Linked DNA regions of Homo sapiens: region 1 is linked to region 2. Evidence: promoter capture Hi-C in 16 types of primary human blood cells and fetal thymus (Javierre and others, 2016). All regions are on one chromosome and are shown on one strand. The core of a region is centred on a gene start or on the middle of the fragment in contact, and the rest is flanking DNA. Distances in the headings are between cores, read along the strand shown. Region 1 overlaps HSD11B1 (hydroxysteroid 11-beta dehydrogenase 1). Region 2 holds the start of LAMB3 (laminin subunit beta 3).

Evidence for each region. Contacts are between HindIII fragments. The CHiCAGO score rates a contact against its expected background, and 5 or more counts as called.
Region 1: a fragment that was not itself captured here is called in contact with the fragment with the promoter of LAMB3 in region 2 in 4 of 17 cell types (monocytes, neutrophils, M1 macrophages and 1 more); the score reaches 14.7 in monocytes.

Annotation. Positions count from the first base shown.
Region 1 is chr1:209,726,887-209,730,080 of GRCh38, forward strand. The region is part of intron 4 of HSD11B1 (hydroxysteroid 11-beta dehydrogenase 1); the gene reads left to right. All of the region lies in intron 1 of HSD11B1-AS1 (HSD11B1 antisense RNA 1), which reads right to left. Among named protein-coding and RNA genes, the nearest start is that of HSD11B1-AS1, 14 kb to the right of the region's middle. The HindIII fragment of the contact is 5,210 bases long and covers 1-3,194 here.
Region 2 is chr1:209,651,175-209,654,534 of GRCh38, forward strand. LAMB3 (laminin subunit beta 3) reads right to left here and starts at 1,251. Exons shown (of 23, transcript NM_000228.3): 1 at 1,195-1,251. RefSeq lists an enhancer at 753-1,952. The HindIII fragment of the contact is 2,819 bases long and covers 1-1,878 here.

The DNA of each region.
Region 1 (3,194 bases), core at 121-2,620, 76 kb after region 2:
CTCTGTTGCCACCTAGACAAACACATTAAATGTCATAGTCAATATCTTTATTGTCATCTAGGGGTGTGTAGTGGGCTGAATGGTGGTCCTCCCCCAAAAGATATATCCACCTAGATCCTGTGAACGTGACCTTAAGTGGACACATAGAAAGTCCTTGAGGATGTAACTAAGATCTCAAGATGAAATCATTCCCGATTATCTGAGAGGCCCTGAATCCAATGACAAGTAACCTTATATGAAGAGTAAAAGACACAGACAGAAGAGAAGAAAGTGATGTGAAGATGGAGGCAGAGACTGGAGTTGCCAGCACAACTCAGCTCCAACTGCCAGCAGACATTAGAAGCTAGAAGAGAAAAAAGAAGGATTCCCTGCTATAGGTTTTGGGGGGAGCATGGCTGTGCTGATAACTTGGTTTTGGACTTCTGGATTCCAGTTCTGTAAGAGAACACATTTCTGTAGTCTTACGCTACCAAGTTTGTGGTAATTTGTTATGGCAGCCCAGGGAAATGAATACAAAGGGACTAGGAGTGACTAGCCCTGTTTATTTATGGGTATCCTCATCTGTCAGCTTAGAAGTGAAAATAATACTGCTATTCATAAATTTTGCCTATTTTGGACTCGACTATCAAAAGAGAGAGAATCCTCACCAATGCAGAAAGAACTGGATTTAACACATGGCTCCTGGAAAACACTCATATAAAGAACAGTGCCTTCTGTAGAGGAAGTACCACCTAGTGTTCAAGAGTGTGGGCCACTAGAGTCAAATTTGAATCCTGGTTTGAATCCTGCTTCTCCCACTCATTAACCTTGAAACTTTGAGCATTTATCCTTTAGATTCTACACTGGCACATAAGAGCTAAATAAATGTTAGTTCCTATTTAGCTCAATTTCAGAGGTTATTGTGTTTGCTCCATATGCTTGCTTATTTTTGCAGAATACTTGTCTCCGCTTACTTATCCCTCTCCATGGCTGAAATGGCTACCCCAGTCCCAACCTTACATGACCTTTTCATTCAAAATCCAACAGCAGCAATCAGAATCTTTTGGTCACTTATTTCAATTTATTGAAAGAGAGACCACGATGTGTGTTCAAGCCAGTGTGCATATTCGTGATAACTGGGCCAACCTTCCATGGCTAGAAAGATAAAGGCTCTTTGAAGGGGATGAGGGCAGGAAGTCCATGGCAAGCATTTCTAGTACACTGTAGCTTTTCACATTTTATATATTCCAACCTATTTATGTCTTCCTTCATAGTATATGCCTCCAATTTCATGCTTTAAAAAGTATCTCTAACTTTGAGATTAGAAATTCACCAATAGCTTATTTTAGTTTTTTACTTTCCACATATACTCTGTGATCTAATTTGAATTTGTTTATTAGAATGGCACTTTTTTCTCCAAGTAACTAGCTATTTGTCCCAACATGATTTTTTGAATAGCTCATACTTTTCTCACCAATTTGAATACTAATACTGCTAACAATAATAGCATTTTCTGAATGCTTTCTATGTGCCAGAGTTTGTGCTAAGTATATTACATGGGTTACTTCAGCTTGGTTATATTATTATCCACATATTACAGCTAAGAATTGGCATACTTGGGATTCACACCTGGGTCATCTGACTCTAGAGCTCATACTTTTAATTATTATGCTATTCTGATAAGTAATGTGGATCTATTTTTGTCTCAAACAATAAGGAAAATTATTGACATAACTGGAAGTCCAGATGTAGGGCAGGCTTCACAGTTGACTTGGCTGAAGCTCAGTGTCCCCGTGATTCTCTTGGCTCTGCTCTCTTCCATGTGTGGCTTCATCCTCAGGCTGACAATGAGATAGCTGCAGCAATTCCAGCCCCCATATCAATGCACAAAAAATGTGTTGGAAGAAAAAGAGGATTGCTACTCTCAGAAACTCTTCCAGAAAAACAATAACTTTTTGAGACACTCCAACAAAATTTTCTTCAAATCTCATTGGTCCAAAATGAGCCACATGGCCATTCCTGTATCAATCATGAGTAAGAAGAATGGGATAAAATAGATTACATAAGCTCATACCTGCAGTTAGGAATGATGTCAGCTTTCTTTTGGCACATGGGCTGCATAGAAGTGAGGATAACTATCAATAAGAAGTAAGTCCAGCTCTCAGATACAGAAAACCTAAAATAATAGTGGATTCAATAAGTTAGCATTTAGGCCAGGCATAGTGGCTCATGCCTGTAATCCCAATACTTTGGGAGGCCGAGGCAGGTGGATCACTTGAGATCAGGAGTTCAAGACCAGCCTGGCCAACATGGTGAAACCCTGTTTCTACTAAAAATACAAAAATTAGCCAGGTTTGGTAGCTCAAACCTGTAATCCCAGCTACTCGGGAGGTTGAGGCAGAAGAATCACTAGAACTTGGGAGGCAAAAGTTGCAGTGAGCCGAGATCATGCCATTGCACTCCAGCCTGGGCAACAGAGCAAGACTCTGCCTCGGAAAACACACACACACACACACACACACACACACAAGTAAGTTAAAATTTAAATCAGGTCTGAAGGTAGGCAGTATAGGGCCAGTATAGTATGGCAGCTCCATGGTCACCCAGGTTCCTTCCTTCTATCTAAACTATCTAAATGTTTTGCCATCCTCAACACGTGGCTTCTACCTCATGGTCCAAGATAGGTCTGGAGCCATAGCCATTACATCCACCTTCAGACACCAAGAAGGACAAAGGATTGGGAAGGAGAGACTGGCTTCTCCTTTTAAGGATGTGTCCCAACATTGAAACCAAAACTAAAGATACAACAAAAAAGAGAAAACCACAGGCCAATATCCCTGATGAACACAGATGCAAAAATCCTCAACAAAATACTAGCAAACAGAGCTCAACAACATTTTAAAGGATCATTCATTATGATCAAGTAGGATTCATCTTCAAGATGCAAGGATGGTTCAACATAAGCAAATCAATAAATGTGATACATCACATCAACAGAATCAAAGGCAAAAATATATAATCATTTCAGTAGATGATGAAAAAGCATTTGGTAAAATGCAATATCCCTTCATAATAAAAACCCTCAACAAATTGGGTATAGAAGGGATATACCTCAACATCATAAAGGCCATACATGACAAACCTATAGCTAATATCTTACTGAACTGGACAAAATTGAAAGCCTTTCCACCAAGATTTGGACCAAGACAATGATG
Region 2 (3,360 bases), core at 1-2,500:
ATGTGACTCACAGGGTGCCCTGGGAAAATCCCATCCCTTCCCAGACTCCAGCTTCCTCCTCTAAAATGGATGGGAAGGAGTGTGGACCCTGCCCTACCCCACACAGCCGTAAGGACAACGTGGGGAGCAGGAAAAGGCTGGACCCTTTGCAGGAGAAAAGCTGTAGAAAGGGCCAAGACCTAGTTCCAGCCCCAAGAGAGAGGGCTGGCTTTTCTCAGGGCCTAGACCAGCAGCCTCAACCCAGCCCCGCCCAAAGTGAATGAGTCAGAGTGGCTGACGGCCTGGAGGCAAACCTTCTCCTGTCACGGGCATGGCCTCCAATACCATTCAGGGCCACTTTGAGTTTGAGGCTCTGTGCCCACAATTCTGGGATGCAACAGGGAGAGATGTATGGCTGTCTTTAACAAGTGAGTGAGGGTTTCTTCTGAAAGGGAAGCAACCCAAAATGTCTTCAATGATGGGCTGGGGCTCGACAAGAGGGGTGGGGCTGGGAGGCCACAAAGCAGGGATTCTGAAGGAGGCTGGGGAAGGATGCTCGAAAGCCACCGTGGGGTCCCAGAGGCAGGCCTGCCTTGTGGAAACATGCCCCACCCTTGCTCATGCAGTGACCCTTCTGCCTTGAATTGGATGTTCACTCTGTTCCAATGACAGCCACAAACTCTTTTGGCTGGGGTGGAGGGCTGGGGGCTTGGCAAGGCAGGGGCGGGGGGGGAAATTGAGGACATTTCTGGCATCTTTAAATTATAGATCCTAATGCTTCAAAATCATTCCTTCCAATCCCTCTCCTAAAAGAGTCATGGGCCCAGGGAGGGAACATGTGGCCTGGGGTCCCACAGCTAACGATGGCCTAAGAGAGACCCATCTTCTGACTTTCATCCAGTGCTTTCTCAGCTTTCCCACCCCTGACTGAAAATCCCCCTGCAAGTAGGCATTCTGAGCCAGGCCAGCCCACCCTTCTCACTTCTCTTTTGTGCTCAACCCCGGATCTGAACCTGCTTTCTTCTAAGCCACTGAGGTGCTTATCAAATGTGAAAAAGAAATCAAAACTGTAGCAGACATTTTAACCTAGCTCACCTGAGTGAGCTCCCAGGAAGAGGAATAAATCAGGCCCTGAAACCAGGCCCCAGGCATCCAGAGATACAGTCCTCCTCCCGCATCCGGCCCGCACCAGGCAGGTAAAGACAGGTAACATACCTTGCTGTGTGTTCTGCCGTTCTTTCTCCAGATCGCCTGAAAGCTCCTCTTGAATGTGGGGGTCTCCCCTCCCGGCTCCAGGTTTTTAAACAACAGCCTCACCTCTGGAGACTCCCTGGCTGGGTGTAGCCCCACCGCAGGGCGGGTCTCAGGAATCTGGCAGCCGTCACACCCATCTGTCGTCACTGCACCCCCACCTCCCAGGACGGGACTGGGCAAGTGGGTTGGTCGGTCCGTCCCAGAGTTCTTGTAGTGAGCTCCACAATGCCCACCTGCCTGTGGGGGCTGCAAGGGGCCCCTCAAACAGAAAGCACAAGGCACATGTAAGTGATCATCAGAGACCAGAATTCACAGGGTGGGGAAGGGCCCTTGCATTTGTGCCAGGCAATGAACTCAGCATTTTCCCAAAGCCAGCAGGGGTCAGCTTCTTCTTGTGACCTGGACCACCCCAGACAGAAGATCAGGCAGAGAACACAAAGATTAGGGCTTATATAGAGAGTTAAAGCTCCAGACATATCACCGGGCTGGAAGGTGAGAAGACTCAAACATCCAGGACCCTGGAAAGCACCATTCCCCTCCCCAGTGAAAAAAAAAATGAAAAATCCCAGCTTCTTGGGGCATTTGGAGGATCCTTAAAAGGCAAGGTTCATCAGGAAGGATTCAAAGCTCAACTCATCCAAGGAAAGCTTAAGAGAAATGAGCAGAGTAACTAAATGGCTCGCCTCCAGCTCCCTCCACAGGGTTGGCAGGGAGCCCTGGGACAGGTAGCTGCCTGTGAGTCACTCCTCCCACCTGTGGGGAGGGTTAGTCTCCTAGCCCCTCCCTCCCTAGGCAGGAATGCCCGCCTGGAGGGCCAGAAAACAGACCTGACCACAAGTGGTGGAAGGAAAGGCTGAAGCATAGCTTGACTGACAAAGTCAAAACAGACTTTCCCTGGCCTCCTGCCAGGCCTGAGAACACAGCTTCTTTTGTGGGCTCCTTGCTCAGGGATCCTGGGCTTCCAGCCACTGTAAATGGAAGTGGCAGGTCCAAATTGAGAGGCTGGTCTCACAGGACACTCTTTCCCCCAGGTTAGGGTCAGAGAGCTTTTAGGGAAACCTGGAGGGTCAGCCAGTCCATATCTTGGCCCTGGAGAGCCTGCACTGGCACCGTTTTGGAATGCTAGGACCTCAAAGCTACTATTTAAAGGAGCTTCTTAACTACGATTCCACTTTGTTAGTGTCTCCTAAACAGAAAGTTCTCCACCATTGGAGGGTTATGTCCAAGAAATTGGCTTGAAGACCCTTAAGGGGGAAATGTAGAATTTTGTGGATTAAATTGGGCATTTCTAACCCTCAGATTCGAATTAAGCATAAGTTCAGGTAGGCAGAAGAAATAGTGTAATTAGCAAGTGGGCAGTGAGTTGTTGATGTAAGTTGATGCATAATTGATAGTCCAATAAATGTTAGAGTCTTGCCCCCTGTAAGCATTCCAGTGAAATCTAGCTCAACTCAGCAAGTAAGGTCAGTAGAAGCAGTGTCCCTTCAACACAGAGAGACCTCCCTCAAGTCCCCCACCGAGAAAGGTCAGCTCTGACTCTGACACACCTGTGTTTTCAGTTCTCCCACCTGGTGGTCTCTTTCTCTCCACTTCCCCAACTCCCTGAACTCAGAGCGCTCATGAAACTTTCGCCCTCTGCCCATCACCAGAGGATGTGACAAAGAACTCATTAATAATTAACTCAGCAGAAGAGAGCAGGTGTTGCAATCCCAGATCCTCAGAGGAGAAAAGGCAGGGCAGGTGTGCGGTGGGCCTCACCATGAGTAGCTGGGGCCCCTTAAATCCTCCTCCTCCTCCCTTTATCTGAGGCCATGAGCCCAGGTAAATACACATTCGGTGTCTCAGACTTCACAGGCTTGGGCAGGTCCTGGAGTGGTTTGGCTTCGCAGGAGGGACATGCCAATTGCTGTGCTTGGCTCTCCCCTACACTCCCGGCAAAGTCCAGGAAGCTGTTTATGCAGACCCCCAAGAGCAGCCCAGCCAGCCTCACTCCTGAGGGACACTGATCATTTCCAAGTGGGGATCCAGTCCCCCAAGAACTCCAGGGCTCCAGGCACAAGCTCTGGAGCTTCAGAACCCAATTTGTTCAGTCAAGTAGCCTAAAATAGAGCCTGAGGCCAGATCAGG